4 separate regions of the Homo sapiens genome follow, and regions 1, 3 and 4 are each linked to region 2. The links are contacts of gene promoters, found by promoter capture Hi-C in blood cells and fetal thymus (Javierre and others, 2016). All regions are on one chromosome and are shown on one strand. The core of a region is centred on a gene start or on the middle of the fragment in contact, and the rest is flanking DNA. Distances in the headings are between cores, read along the strand shown. Region 1 overlaps TCOF1 (treacle ribosome biogenesis factor 1). Region 2 holds the start of CDX1 (caudal type homeobox 1). Region 3 overlaps LOC105378225 (a long non-coding RNA gene). Region 4 overlaps HMGXB3 (HMG-box containing 3).

Region 1 (3,653 bases), core at 880-3,379, 220 kb before region 2:
TAGGTGTGACACTGTATCGTAGTTGTGCTTAAAAAGGTCCTTATAACTGAGAGCTGCATACTGAAATCCTGGTGGATGAGCTGACATGTCTGAGACTGGCTGCAAAGTAATCCAGGGGCGTTGGGGAACTGAGTGGAGGGTTTGCGTGAAACGAGCCTGCTCAGGAGTTCCTAACTGTTGAGGCTGGGGATGGTACGTGGGGGTTCTTTACATTATCTATCTTTGGGTATGCTTTAAATTTTCCAAGGAAACAATAAAAGAAAAAGCAAACAAGCAACAGCAGCTCCCTGGTATTCTGCAGGCCAGTCTGGTTTTGAACTGCACCATCCCTGAACATGTTCACCGCACACGAGGGCATCTCCAGGCCCATTTCCTTCCTGAACCTCCAGCTAACGAGAACACACATGGTTGTGAGCCAGGGAGCTGGTCAGGTCTACTTTCCATTCCCCAAATGTCAGATCTGGTTTGAGCTCTGCTCCCTCTCTGGCCAGTGAAGAGCTGGAGGGCAGGAAGAGGGAGCTGCCTGAGGCTAAGAGAGGAGTGGAATCAGGTCCAGACTGGTCTCTGTTTCACCATCCTGTTTACCCCCTGAGCCTGACTTAGCACACCTGGCTCCTCAGGGTGCTAAGGTGCTGTGGAGAGGCATAAAGTAAAAAGTAAAACAGAAAGGTGCCTGCCTGAGGGTGGAAGCTTCTCTGGGCTTAGGCCTTTCCTACCCCTGCCAAATAGCCTCCCCCGCGGCTGCTCCGATCTGCCACTTCCAGAGCCTTCCTTCCCACGATATAAAAAAGAGAAGGATGGAAAGTGGGAGAAGGCTTACAGTTGAGGGAGGGGGGATCTATATATATGTGAAGACAGGAACAGATTGTCGGGGACGAAGAGAAGCAACGAACCCACTGAGGCAAACAATAGCGTCTTGGGATGTTAAAAGCAGCTCAGCAGCAAAAGCCTCCTGTTAGTTCCACCTGCCCACGCCACCCCACTGGGCCTCTGGGCCGTAGGAGGGAGGTGGTGCAGGGGGCTTGGCTGTGGGGGGTTGGGGCGGGGCATTAGCCTGTAGAGTTCATAAAGGTGGGCAGTGAAGCTTGCCCAGGGTATAGGAGAAGACCTGCTTCTCATTACGCCTCTCTCATGACTTCACTGTGTGGTCAAGCCCCTCAACTTTCTGATCCTCAGTTTCCCGTTTAATGAAACGGCTAGTAGTTATCCCAGCCTGGGCTCATTCACTGGAGGGGTTCCAATGCACTGTGGAAACTGGAAAGCACAGTATACACAGGAATGTAGTTCTGGGGTCAGTTAGAAAAAAAACTGATGGGAGTGAAGCAGCAAAACCAGCACTGGCCTGAACATTTGGTTGTACCTCCCTATAGGTGCTGGGCAGTAAGGACCCAGAGGGAACCCTGGGATACCCCTCCTACCTGTAGGTCTGATGCCTGCAGAACCAAACCTAGGGGCTTTCTGGACAGTGCTCACCCCATCCTGTCAAAGCTGAGCTCATTCTAACTGTGCCTTCATTCCAGCAAGTCACAGAGTGGGGAGAGGGGGCTGATGGCCTAGGCTGCGGACCCTGGCAAGGGACATGACCACAAAGGCAACAAACACTCCAAGAACCTCTCTCAGAATTGCCTGAGGCTGCTTAACAGATCTAGGCCAGCCCCACTCCAGGGGACTGAGAAATTCTACTCTCTGGGGATGTGGCCTGGAGCCTCAAGGTCCACCCCACCAACCCAGGAAGTCTCATCCCAGAGATTGAGATGAATGAGGCTCAGAGAAGGCAAGTGGCCTCACCCAGGGCAACCAGCAAACTGGTGCCAGAGCCAGGATTAGAAGTTAGTTCTCCAGGCACCAGACTGGAGCTCCTTCTAGAACCAATTATGCTAGGCCTCAATGTAACACCAGAATTTAGTTTCTTACAGGTTTCCTTTTTCTTTGATTCAACCTAAAACTTTGAGAGCAGGGCCTACGTCTTTGACAAACTAATAGAAGAAGTTGGCCTTAAAAAATATTACCGACAAGTGAAACTGCATATATTTGTGGTATATAACATGATGTTTTGATACACATATACATTGTGGAATAGCTAAATTAAGTTATTTAACATATGTATCACCTACTTGTTTTTAAATCTGGAAGCTGTCCTGACCCCAGCACAGACTCTGGCCTGAGGTCTACTCTGCACAACAGGGCGGAGGCACAGTGAGGGGTCTAGGAATGGAGCCAAGGTATCTATCCCTGCCTCCCAGCCTGGGACTCTGCCCACCACCCTGGCCTCAATCCCTTTCCCCACTGATGGGCTAATAAAATCAGACTGAAACTTGTCAATAGAGAGGTGCTCAATAAATGTACAATAATGAAAATAATCATAATTAGTGAGCTGGGGATTAGGAACTAAAAATCTCTCAATCAGGAAGAGGCTGCAGCTTCCCCGGGCTATGCCCGTCTTCCCCGAATCCTCCTGGGGGAATGTACAAACCGCTGACTTCTTTTCTGCTTTTTAAATAGACTCCAGAATCTTCAGGACTAACATACCAATTAAATGGTTCAGTTTAAGCAGGATGTTCATTTTAATTGTGTTAGTCCACCCCCACAGAGAAAGGGGGAGCGGTCCCCTCCCTCCCAGTTGTTTAGATCCCTCAGAGAGGCAGGTGGCCTCGTAAAGGCTCCACACAGAGCCAGAGGGCAATGCCCAAGCCCAGGAGAGGAGAGTGTCGGGGCAGCACCAGGCAACGGGTCAGAATGTGAATGGCCTGTGCTCAAACACCAGGTCTGTCCACTTGTCATCAGCCATGTGATGCTGGGACAGGTCCCTCAACTTCTCTGAGCCTCACTCCCAGTTCCTTAAAATGCAAACAACAAAGGGAGCCACCCTCATAGGGCTGTTGTGGAGATTAAACAGAAAAATGAGAATACAGGGAGTTACCGATGTTGGTGGTGGTTGTTCTTTACTTTTGTAATCTGTGCCATTGGAAAGTGAGAGGCAGTGAGCACCCTATTGCTGGAGGTGTGCAAACAGCATCTGACCTTACTGATGAATTGATAACAATGTGGTATGTGATATTCAAGGGGAGGTGGTTCATGAGACCGCTCTGGTCTGGAGGTTGCAGAACTCCAGGATCTGTGGTTAGGCCCTGGGACAGGGGAGCTGGTGCTCTGAGGTGCCTGGCAGAAGCTTCTGGGAGCTTGGGGCTAGAGGAGGACAAAGGGTAATGCTGTCTGATGGAAGGGCCAGGGTTCACACAGAAGCTTGGACCACACCAGCATGGCTGACTTGGGCCTCTGGAGTACAGGAAGATAAGGTGGGCCTGGTCCCACCCTTGGAGGTGTAGCCTGAGCAGGACTGTGGCTTAAGCTCTGGGTGCAGTGGAGCACATGAAGGTATGCCACAGGTGCTTGAGAGAGGGTCCTGGGCAGAGCTCATGGGATTCAAGAAGACTCCTGGTCCTAAACAGAAAACAGAGAGATACAGGGAGCCAGGGGACCAGCGTTTGGACCTTTCCTCAGCCTCTTATGAATCATGAGAATTTGGGGAAACTGCTTCAACTCTAAGGCTTGATTCCCAATCTGTCAAATGGGGCAACACTCCCTGCCCTTCTCACAGTTAACAGGCACCCTTTCTTAGGCAGGGGACTGTGGCAAGTACCTTGTGTGCTGGC
Region 2 (3,890 bases), core at 9-2,508:
GTCCTGCCCCCTACCCTGCCTTTGAAGAGGGCGGATCAGAGAGGCCTGCCTGGGGGCAGGAGGTTCACAGGCTCAGGAGCCAAACAGTAGCCCCCCTTCCCACTGCTCCCGCTTCCCCTCCCCCGGGGTCAAGAGTTCAGGGAGGACCCTGAGAAGGTAAGGTACAGACCCCTTGCCCCAGTCTGGCCAAAGAGGGCTCTTTTTCAGCCTGAAGGATATGACCCAGCAATGTCTTGACTGTGTGATGGGGAGACCCAGCCCTGGCCAGGAAAGTCACCTGCCCTGTTCACACAGTTAGTTAATCGTCCCTTCTGGGGCGAACCTGCCGCCTTTGCCTAGGGCTGGGTTAGGAGTGGAAGAAGCAGATGAAGAGCACGGAGTCGGTGTTGCTAAATGAGTGTGGGACACGAGTCTGGGAGCCTGCGTTCTAGTTCGGGTCTTGCTCCGCGGCCGCAGGCGCATTTCCGCACTTCGCAGGGGGTCTCGGTTTCCCTATCTGTACAGAGAGAGGGTTAGGCTGTGCTGCTGAAGGCTCCGATAGCCTGAGACTGAGGAGAGGGAGCCAAAGAGCAGCCCCCCAGGGCGAGAGTGGACAGGAGGGCCACACTCCCGGGAACCCGAGCAGGGCCGGAGCAGAGGTCAGACAGGGGGCGGCCTGGGCCGCGCCCGAGCACCTGCAGGTCCAGAGGCGCAGGGCGAGGGAAGGGTCCTTACCGCTGCCACCGCCGCCTCCGGCCGCCACGCTGCGCCGCATCCACTCGTAGGGCGTCGGCCTCTGCGCTCCGGGCGAGGACGGTGTGCCCGGGCCCCCGAGGGGCTGCGCCAGGAGGCCCGGGCCGGGCCCAGGGGGCGCCGGCACCGGGCTAAAGTCTGGAGGGGGCCCGAATGCCAGCGAAGCTGGGCTGGCGGCAGGGGCCGCGGGGCCCGGGCCGTAGGCGGCGGCCCAGTCGTCCTTGGGCGCAGGGAAGGGCGCCCCCCAGGCCGTCGGGGGCGCGGGGGCCGGCTCCACGTGAGAGTAGCTGGAGAAGTCGGGGTACTGCGGGGGCGCCGGGGGCGGGGCCGGGGGGCCGTAGGCTTGCGGGCCCAGGCCGAGGCTGGCTGGCCTGGCTGGGCCGGGGTACACGGGCGAATCCTTGTCCAGCACATAGCCCACATACATGGTGGCCGCGGGGTCCCCCGCGCATGCTGGGCCCTGGAGCCGCCGCTGCCGGCCGCCCCGACGACGAGCAACCGCTCACCTGAACTCGGCTGTCCTGCCGCCGCGCCCGCCCCACCCAGGCCTTTTATAGCTCCGGGCCGCCCGCGGCCCCAGCCGAGGCGGGTTTGCATTTCAAAGCGGGGGGAAGCCTCCGGGCCGCGAATCAAAGGGGGAAACCCGTCGGGGGCGGGGGGTTCAAAAGGAGACAAATTGCCGCCCCAAGCGGGAGGTGGACTGGCCAGGGCCTGGAGGGGGTGGGGGCGCGGAGGGCGCGTCTTGGGCGAGGGTCGAGGCCGCGCTGCGAGTGGGAATCGCTTGCCAGGGAGCGGCCTAGCGGCCTGAACACCTTGTCCTTCCGGTGGCCGCGTGGACGGCCCTGCAGCCCCATTTTACAGGCGGAGGAACAAGCTCCCAGGGGCCGGGGGATTCTAGGCCAACTTCACACAGTGACCAGCTTGAGGTGAGGGGCAACGCAGACTTCAAACAGGGCTCCGGTCTGTAGGATCGCAGGTCCTTAATCTTTTGGCGGGGAGGGGTCACGACCCCTCTCGTCATGGAAGCTGTGGATGTTTTTCCCTGGGGAAATGCACATATGCACATACATACACGAGTCTTCCTTACAGTTGGGGGACTGCCTGGGTTGGCCTTCTAGAGAAAGTTCTCAAAAGGCAGTGTGTGTGTGGGTGTGTGTGTGTGTGAGTTAGGGGGGTCTTCTGGGGACATTACAGGAAACTTTTAGTAAATTATCTTGATGACTCTCTACCCTCTTTTTTTAATTGAGAGGTTTCAAGCATACACAAAAGTAGAATTGTATAATGAACTGCTGTGTACCCATCACCCCGCTTCAACAACTATTAAGGTTTTGTCACACTTATTTCACCTACTCCCCGCTTTTCTGAAGTATTTTAAAACAAATTCCAGACATCATGTCATTTTACCCCTACATACTTCAGCACGCATCTCTAAAACACATGGACATTTTCTTACATAATATGCCATTATCACATCTAGCAAAATTAACACAAATTCCTGGGTATTACCTAACACACAGTTCGTATTCAAAGTACTCCAATTGATTCAAAAATGTCTTTTTAGCAGTCTGTTTGTGTGAATCGGGATCCAAAAGCCCTGATCCATTTATTATGGCTGGAGCCCCCTTGGGATTTTAAATGCATCACGTGTTCCTCCACTCCATATGAAGGACTGGCAAACATTTCATAGCTACCTAAGGGGGAGTGGGGGCTGGGAACACTTGAGGGGGTGTCAGTGAACTGGGAGTGGGGACAAGGCTGAGGGATTTGGGGAAGGGTGCATGAAGGACAGGGCTCTGGGTCAGGAAGTCAGATGGGGTCCCTCCGCACAAGGGCTTTGTGCCAGGGAGCTGTGCAGAAGCACCCTGTGGGATTGGATGGGCCCACATTTCCTGGGTTCCTCTCATTGTGCAGGGATGTGTGGTCCCCAGAAGAAGGTCAGAATCAGGGTCTTATCTGTTCAACCCGTCTCTCTCTTGGGTCACCATATTAGCCGGGGGCTGGTCAGTATCATCTCAGGGCTGGGCAGATGTTTCGGGATCAGGACATAATTTGCAGGGCCGGGAGCAAAATAAAAAATATAAGGTCCCTTGTTCAAAAATGATTAAGGATTTCAGGATGGTGGCAGCAGAGCATTCACCTGAGCCCGGGGCCCTTCCACACACTGGGCTCTGTGTGACTGCAATGGTGACCCGCCTGGGAAGCTGGCCCTGGTGAGACTCTTGCTCTTCTGGGGCTCTGATATGTGATAGAGCCAGAGACTCAGCCAGCACAGGGCTCCCTCCGCTTCCTGCTCAGAGGAACCCTTTCCATTGCACAGGTAGAAGCATTGAGGCTCAGAAAGGAAAGGAGTAATGCCCAGTGTTTGCTGCAACATGAAGGCTGCTTGTAGGAGAGGGGAAGGGAAATCCTGGCTGTTGCTGACCGGGCGGAGCCCTTGGCTACCTTGCAGGAGCACATGGCTGTCCACATGTGTGTGGATCAGCACATGACACAGATGAGCACATGGCTGCCTCAGCAGGGAAGATCCCACTTTCCCAGGTCAGGAAGTGGATGCGGTGCTGAAATGTTTCTCTGGAGCTCTGGGCTCTGCTTAGGACTCAAGTTTTCAAGGGATTGGTGGGAAACTGGCAAGTACACAGAGGAGGGAGAAGAGGCCCAAGAGGACTGAACTCCACTTTCTGAGCTGAGAGAACTGGGACTGCTTGGACTGAAGGAAGAGAAAACCTGGAGTGGGGTCTGAGTCTGGGGAGGAAGACAGGGCAGACTTGGGACCTCAGGGAGGAAACTGCAGGCTACAGATGTGGATTTCAGCCCACCCATACGTAAGAAAGTGCTCTGTAAGGGGCCATCTGTCAGGAAATGGGCTGTCATGAGAGAGAGTGAGCTCATGATCACAGGAGGTATGTAAGTGAGTGCTGGAGGTCAGTCTCACGTTAGGGATGCTGGGGGAAAGGATGCCTATCCCGGGGGAAGGGTGCTCTCTAAGTGCCCTCTAGTTTCAAGAGTATGCTCTGTCAGGCCTAAATGGTAGGCTTAAAGGTTGGAAATAGGCATACAAATTCATTTCTTTATGTATGTATTTATTTGAAAAATATATATTATTAACACACCTCCTTTGTGCTGACACTATGTTAGGTACTGAGTGAGGCCCTGCCCTT
Region 3 (4,086 bases), core at 534-3,033, 170 kb before region 2:
GCCTCTCCTACAAGCTTGTATGGTGCCCTGGTTCAAGAATTCAAGTTAGGGATTTGCTCCAGACTTGCCCGACTTCTGCTTACAGGTTTATCTAAATCAATAGTTCTTAACCTTGATTAAGAACTGTGATGAGTTCTGTGAGATGAACTTGAAGGCCTGTGATCACCTGGCAATTGTATGTAAGATTTGGTGCATTTGGTATGGTAGGAGTGGGGGGAGGCCAATAATTGTCTCAATTTCTCAGTGGGGTCTATGACTTCTAAGAGAACTTTCTTGCCTTTTACTGGTCTCTCCTGCCTCTGAACTTTCAGGACCCACATCTGTTTCTCTCATCGTATTCAAGTTGCTTGGGTTATATCTTTGCTAGGCTGTAAGCTCTGTCCAAGTCAGGATGATAGCCAGTGCCATTCACACCAGAGCTTCTGCCCTTTCAAGTGTGAGGCCCTTATGCAAAGTTGATTAACCTCCTGTCTCCAACATACACAAAAGGAATCGTAATTTTGTATATTATTTACAGATAATGGTTGATGCATAGACTACTTCCCAGACCTCTTAAAAAAATTCTAGTCCCTCTGCTCTGGGAATCTGTAGCTCACAGGTTAAGATGTTGATCATAGATAATAAGAAAGGAAACATCCTTAGATATTAACAAGTCCAACACTCCATTTTGCAGATGAGGATGCTAAAGCCTAGAGGAGAGAAGTGATTTGCCCAAGATCACACAGAGAGTTCCTATCAGAGCTGGGGCTGGAAACCAAGTATTCGGATTCCTCAAATTCCATGCCTGTCCTTCACACTCTTTGTAGCCCCAGCTACACAGATATTCTCAAGTAGAAAAGTTAACTATTGGGTACTGAGCTTAATACCTGGGTGACGAAATAATCTCTACAACAAACTCCCATGACACAAGTTTACCCATGTAACAAACAGCCACATGTAGCCCCAAAACTAAAATAAAAGTTAAAAAAAAGAAGTGTTTGTGGAATCAATGATTGAATACTAGGCAGGGTGAAAAGCTATTAAAAAGCCTGAATATGCCCATAGCTTTGAAGTTTTTGGCTGGGCGCGATGGCTCATGCCTGTAATCCCAGCACTTTGGGAAGCCAAGGCAGGCAGATCACGTGAGGTCAGGAGTTCGAGAACAGCCTGGCCAAAATGGCAAAACCCCATCTCTACTAAAAATATAAAAATTAGCCAGGTTTGGTGGTATGTGCTTGTAATCCCAGCTACTTGGGAGGCTAAGGCACGAGAATTGCTTGAACCCGGAAGGTGAAGATTGCAGTGAGCTGAGATTGTACCACTGCCTGCCAGCCTGGGCAACAGAGCAAGACTCTGTCTCAAAAAAAAAAAAAGTGAGTTTTCTCTAGATAACTAAAATAAGTTAATAGAGCCTTGTTCTCCTCTCTGCCCCCAGCCCCAAGCTCAGGCTAATGCTGCAGTTTGAGCCTGGAGGAAAAGAAAGAGGGGGCTTCTCTCCTTGGAGTTTAAAATCAAGGAGCGTTAACTTGATTGCATTTGACTTCAACTTCAGTTTTCTAATAAGAATGCTTATCATACAGTTCAAGCATACATATATTTATTTGATCATTATTTGTTGAGCAAATTTTATGCATTGACCACCCTGCAGATGTGAGGGTTAGTAAATCACACATGGCCTCTGTCCTCTGGTTGCCTACAGTTTATGGGATAAAGGCTATACACATGGGTCATGGAGCTGATTGTCCCCATTCTCCTGATTCCAAGTTTGACAGGGTCTTCATTGAGCAGTTGACTCTAAGCAGTCAGGGTCATTTCCTTTTCATGGTGGGCACTACTGCATATGTCATTCCCAATGCCACGACTGGAAGGAGCTTGGAGGTCATGCAGTTCAATCCCTTTATTTTGTATGGGGAAACTGAGGTCCAGAGCAGCCAATCAGAGAATCTGGGGCCGAGCCAGGACTATTACTATTACCTGGGTTTTGGAGGTTGGTTCTGAGGGCTGGATCAAGCCATAGGGAGAGAGGAGGACATCGTAGGGGAAGGCAAGAGCAAGAGCAACAGCAAAGGCCTGGAGATGGGACTCTGTGTGGGGTGAAGGGAGCAGGGGAAAGGCAGCCCTGGTTTTTCATATATTGTTCTGGAGTCAGACAAAGAAAGGCTGTCTTCAATGTGAGGCCGATGTCACTATCACAGAGAAGTCATCAGGCCAGCTTCAGAAGCTGAGCCCAGGCCAAGGACTGATGCTGCCCTCAGGCACTAAGGCGCCTGGCAGGAAGGAAAAAGAAATATTGTTATCAAATATACGGACTACTTCTGTGTATGAAAACGTTTCTATATGTTGCCCCTGTCAATGAGAAAATTGTTGCTCATCTCACCCTTTCTCAAAGAATCGTGAAGACCAAATAATAATTATTGTTATAATGATAATAGCAGCAGCCATTTATTTGAGTGAAACCACGTGCTGAAGATAGAGTTGTGAGCCAGCAAGCATTCTTATACCCCTACTCCTTGCAGAGATAGTCAGAGCCAGTATGTGCACCGATTGTACAGAGAGGATGTTGCCCTGCAGAGGAAAAGGGCCTTGCTCAAGGTCACACAGTGGGCCAGCAGCAGGTGGGATTAGAACCTGGGTCCTCCTGCCCACATGTCAAGGCCTGGCCTGATACCACCCTGGCTCTGCAGCCAGCCCCAGAGAGGATGAGTCCAGCCTTGACCCTCCCGGGGTATGCTGAGCTCTTCCAACAGGCTTTTCCTGTAGACCCCCACTCCCGGCTCTGGAGGCCAGCACCCCCAGAGCTGTGTCTGCTCTCTCTGCCCCACAAGCAAAAGCATCACTTGCAGGCCCAGCTGTCACCAGACCTGCACTAAAGAAAGTGTATTTCTGTCCAGCTGAGTCCTGTTGGCAGCTCCAGAACCACTGACATCTCTAACAATCTCCAGGTGATAGGCTTGTGGGGTTTTAGTCTGCCTCTTCTTATCCGGGGAAGACCATGAGAGGGAAGCCCCAGGCCTGAATCTGAGGGACTGCTTTTGCAATAATGCAAAGCTCTTCCTAGCTCAGAAGAGAAGAAACCAAATGGACTCTCTGGACAATATTCGTGTGGCCTGAGAGGTGATAGTTTAGGTTCCTTTACCATGTGGCAGAACAAGGAGTTTTACACTAGGTGAACCTACTGAAGGGACATGCCCCACAGTGAACCTAGGTGATGCCCAGGTACAGCACTGAACAACGTGGAACCACTTACTGAGAAAGAGATGAAAAGTTCAGTTATATTTTCAATCCTTCTCATTATACCATTTCAATTCGATGCTAACGTGTCTTTAATACCTCTCTAAACCTTGCTAATATATATATACACGTATGTATATTAAAACATTTTTTTAAAGAGCAAGCCTTGGACTTGCAGCCTTTGGCAAGCAACAATATCTAGTTAGAATTTAATAGCATTGTTTTTATTGTATTTATTTTTACTTTTAGCTCTTATTTATGGCAGGTGAGACTGGTTTTCCATTTGCAATAGTGATATAAAGTTTCCATTTTAAAGACACTTATTTAAGTTAGAAAGCTTCTATTTAAAGAAAAAATACTAAATGAATAATAATACAGGTGGTATGCAGACGCAGTCTATGTGCTAAAGGTGGTACGGGAACAAGTAAAATCTGGGAAACTCTGACATATGCAATCATGGAATGAAAAAGTCATATACTCTGAGAATCAAAGACCATTGAATTTCAGAAGCTGATGCTTCTAGGATCCCAGAACACAGCATCTTAGCACCATAAATCCTAAAACGAACAATATAATCTATGAGATGCCTTAAAACATAGTCTCTCACAAAATATTAGCATGTGGGAGAGAAAGCCTTGAAGCCATCTGTCAGTTCAATTCCCTCATTTTGATGTGAAGAAACTGAGGCCCCAAGAGATTCAGGACAGAATGAAATAACATATGTGAAAGAGCCTTGTGAAACATAATGTGTTCTTCAAATATTAGGATATTTGTAAAGGTCTCCCAAAGTCACAGGGCTTTCCAGCAGAGATCTGGGACTGAAATCAGCACTCTTGATGCCTTTCCCTGCAGATGGTACTTTCTTGGGGCCCCTCA
Region 4 (3,803 bases), core at 268-2,767, 160 kb after region 2:
AGCTATTATCAGAACTAACCTACTCATGTTCTTGGTGGCAGTGGTAGAGATAGTGGTAGATAGAAATAAGCATGTAAATAAGGAAGAATCATTGCAGATGATTTAAATTTTTTTAAAGTCTTGATAATGATCTACATTAGTGTGTAGTTTTAAAAATCAAATCACTCCAGGATTACGTAGGATTTTATCATGCACAAAAAGATTGCTGATTTGTGTGTGTGTGTGTGTGTGTGTGTGTGTGTGTGTGTGTGTGTGAAACAGAGTCTCACTCTGTTGCCCAGGCTAGAGTGCAGTGGCACAATCACGGCTCACTGCAACCTCCACTTCCCCGGCTCAAGTGATCCTCCCACATCAGCTTCCTGAGTGGCTGGGACTACAGGTGTATGCCACCACGCCTGGCTAATCTTTTCCTATTTTTTGTAGAGATAGAGTTTCGCCAACTTGCCCAGGCTAGTCTTAAACTCCTGGGCTCAAGTGATCCTCCCACCTCAGCCTCCTAAAGTGCTGGGATTACGGGCATGAGCTACCACACCCAGCCTAGACAGCTGATTTTATTATAATAAGGAAACCAAAGGGAGTAGATAAGCTTTTCTTAGACTCCATCTCCACTCCACTATAGGGATTATTTCCCAGATTCACTGTTAATAAACAAATCACCTAGAGGAGGGAGCAGAGAGTAGCATCTCCAAGCCTGTAGGTAAGACAAAGCTCTCCCAGAAAGAAGAATGCCAGGCCAATAAGCACAAAATAATTTAAATGGCAGTAGCTGATGAGCTCCAATAAGGGAAAATACAACCTGTTCTGCTATAACGTAGTTGTTGCTGTTGCTCTACATTACCAAAATAGAAGTTACAGACAACTGTTTCTATTGAAATAAGGAGTTAAGGATAAAAGGTTCCAGCCTGCAACAGCAAGGTTATTCTTCCTGCAGGAATTTCAGTTTAAAAAAACAGCAGTTTATGCCATGACAGGGATACTCTCAAAAAAACAAAAACCCAGCAGTTTAAATAGCTGTCAGTGTATTTTGTTACTGTGAACTAGAAATAAGAAAATGCTGACAGACATAATTCTAAATGCTTCCTTGTTAGTCCTTTAACCCAAGCACCCAAAGCCTTGGTCTCCTCCACCATCTTTGGCTTTACTTGCATTTTTGCTTTCAGCATAGTTTCCAACCACCAGTGCTAACAAAATAATGTGGTACTGTATTACACAAGCAGCTCTATCTACCTCTAAACATGCAAACCTTATTCCTGATTATAACTGATAGCAGTTAGTACAATATACTACATTCAATCTGTAATATGAAAACTCATGGCGTAGGAGAAATGCCTATATAAACTACTATATTAAAGTTTACTACATTAAAGCTACTATTTATAGTAACTATGAGGGGCTCCAAGTTACACTAAAATTTAGAAAAGGAACCTAAGGCTCACTGCAGAAAACACAAAAAAATGTCAGCTCCACGTATTGCTGCAACCGAAGAGGACAAGAGAGTGCAGGGCATTATCAAAATGGAAACAAGCAAGCCCAGAGTCAAGAAGGATAAAACGATGAAACTTTTCCCAAAAAAAGAAAAGGAAACAGAACAAGGGGCTTGGTTTTCCCAAGGCCTTCATCACTGAACCAGTGGAAAAAATAGCTGGAAAAAAAAATTACTTACAGGATCCAAACCTTCCTTCTCTAGTTTGGCTTTCTCCAAGTAGTAACTCCTCTCGGCCACGCTGAGAAGCCTCCAACTCTCACTAATCTTCTTATTGATCTCAGACTGAGGGAGGTGGGGGAGCTCCTGCTGCACTTTCAGGTAGATGTCGTAATAGTACAGAAGGTAAGCAGACCTGAGGAAGCAATGACTTCTTCAGGCTTTCCCAGTAATGGCAATGCTGGCAGAAATCCCTCCACTTCCCACTCCCCATCCCTCGACCCAGGACTTCATTCAACCAGTAAGTACTACTATGCTAAGATATGGGTAGTCAAGAGGTTGATAAAACCTAGCTTCTCATTTCTAAGCATTTATCTAAATAGGGACTGAAAGTCAAGCAAACAAACATTTAAATAACATCCTCAGATGGTGTTATAATAAGTTATAATCTTATTCCTGATTATAACTGATAGCTGTCAGTACAACACAAATTATATTACATTCAATTTGTAATATAAAAACTCATGGTATAGGAGAAATGCTTATATAAGCTACCATATTAAAGTTACTACATTAGAGCCACTATATTACAGTCAGGAGTAACTACCCAGGAAGATAAGGGGCTCCAAGGGAGGAGGGGAAAATGAATGGTAAAGATAGCAAGTGGCTGTTTCCCCTTCAGAAACCTGGAAGCAAAGGCTCATTTGACTGGCTTTCCTAAAGATCGCTTTTTGTGCAGGAATGATTTTAAAGCAAAGATAGATACAGGTGTCCTGTCCTGTCATTCCACTCTCAGGGAAAGCTTCCTCAAGGGGCTGGTTATCACTCACACTCCGTGCTCCTCTACGCAGCCTTTGGTCACCAACCTGGTCAATGGCACCTCCCCAAGGATGAGAGAGGGAAGCAAGCAGACCAATCAAAATGACCAATGCTGGTAGTTTCACAAGTTTGAGGTATTCACAGTCAAGAGTGAAGTTAGAGCTACAATTTGGATATTCTGTACAGATATAATTGGTATTATTTCTTTTTGTGTGTTTTTTTTCTTTTTCTTTTCTTTTTTTTTTTTTTTTGAGAGGAGTTTCGTTCTTGTTGGCCAAGCTGTAGTGCAATGGCACAATCTTGGCTCACCGCAACCTCCGCCTCCCAGATTCAAGTGATTCTCTTGCCTCAGCCTCCCAAGCAGCTGGGATTACAGGTGTGCGCCACCACGCCCGGCTAATTTTGTATTTTTAGTAGAGACGGGGTTTCTCCACGTTGGTCAGGCTGGTCTCGAACTCCTGACCTCAGGTGATCCACCCGTCTCAGCCTTCCAAACTGCTGGGATTACAGGCATGAGCCATCACGCCCAGCCTTATTTCTAATTTTGTAATTTTATTAATGCTTTGTTTTAAATGTTTAAATAACAACAATGGCATAATAATAAATAATGTAGCTCTTTTGTACCTAGCTTCTACCATCAGTATGGTACAATTTCCTGTGACAACTTGAAAACAAAAGCAAAGTCTGGCCAGTAATGGCAATGCTGGCAGAAATCCCTCCACTTCCCACTCCTCATCCCTCGACACAGGACTTCAATCATAACACTCTTTTTCAAAGAGTCTTAAAAGTTTTCCTCAATGCAGCTCTCCAAGCAACTTCTGTTTATAAATGCTAGCAGCAACCAAAATGTGTTGGCTAACCTGGGTTTCTTTGTCTTTTCTCCATGTATTTTATACTTTTTCTTCTTCTTGGGTGGCCCAGGAGAGGTGTAACAATAGGCTTCCTCAATTTCCTCCATCACGACAGTTACCTCAGTACCATCATATGATGCGTCCATGGCTAAAGGAAAGGAAAGTCAAAATAAAGTTTCCAGAATCTCCCCTAAGAGGGGCAGCAGCTTCCTGATCAAATAACCCCTTACCTCTGCCAGTGCCTTAAGGCTTAGACATTTCCCAAACCCAATATATCCTAAGAAGCACCTGGCTTGGTTGTTTAACACACAAGATTCCAGAGCTCCACTTCAGCCCTCCTGGAGCAGAATCTCCCGAGGGTATGGAAATCCACATGCTTAACAAATGCCTCAGGTGATTCCTCAGACCGGGCAAGTTTGTGACCACTGCCTTAGAAATACTTTTCACTTATATTCATGGGATACAGTACCCACCCACCCCTTTAACACAAA

What was found. Contacts are between HindIII fragments. The CHiCAGO score rates a contact against its expected background, and 5 or more counts as called.
Region 1: a contact is called between a fragment that was not itself captured here and the fragment with the promoter of CDX1 in region 2, in 1 of 17 cell types (endothelial precursors). The highest score is 5.6, in endothelial precursors.
Region 3: a contact is called between a fragment that was not itself captured here and the fragment with the promoter of CDX1 in region 2, in 4 of 17 cell types (megakaryocytes, endothelial precursors, M1 macrophages and 1 more). The highest score is 6.6, in megakaryocytes.
Region 4: a contact is called between a fragment that was not itself captured here and the fragment with the promoter of CDX1 in region 2, in 1 of 17 cell types (megakaryocytes). The highest score is 5.1, in megakaryocytes.

Annotation. Positions count from the first base shown.
Region 1 is chr5:150,383,526-150,387,178 of GRCh38, reverse strand. The region is part of intron 17 of TCOF1 (treacle ribosome biogenesis factor 1); the gene reads right to left. Among named protein-coding and RNA genes, the nearest start is that of CD74, 28 kb to the left of the region's middle. The HindIII fragment of the contact is 2,085 bases long and covers 1,087-3,171 here.
Region 2 is chr5:150,164,146-150,168,035 of GRCh38, reverse strand. It overlaps CDX1 (caudal type homeobox 1), which reads right to left and starts at 1,258. Exons shown (of 3, transcript NM_001804.3): 1 at 715-1,258. The coding sequence starts at 1,159. The HindIII fragment of the contact is 7,821 bases long and covers 1-3,890 here.
Region 3 is chr5:150,331,685-150,335,770 of GRCh38, reverse strand. It overlaps LOC105378225 (a long non-coding RNA gene), which reads left to right. Exons shown (of 3, transcript XR_944406.2): 3 at 674-889. Among named protein-coding and RNA genes, the nearest start is that of TCOF1, 24 kb to the left of the region's middle. The HindIII fragment of the contact is 3,533 bases long and covers 17-3,549 here.
Region 4 is chr5:150,004,508-150,008,310 of GRCh38, reverse strand. It overlaps HMGXB3 (HMG-box containing 3), which reads right to left. Exons shown (of 20, transcript NM_014983.3): 2 at 3,322-3,460; 3 at 1,664-1,838. The coding sequence starts at 3,458. Among named protein-coding and RNA genes, the nearest start is that of HMGXB3, 5.7 kb to the right of the region's middle. The HindIII fragment of the contact is 1,858 bases long and covers 589-2,446 here.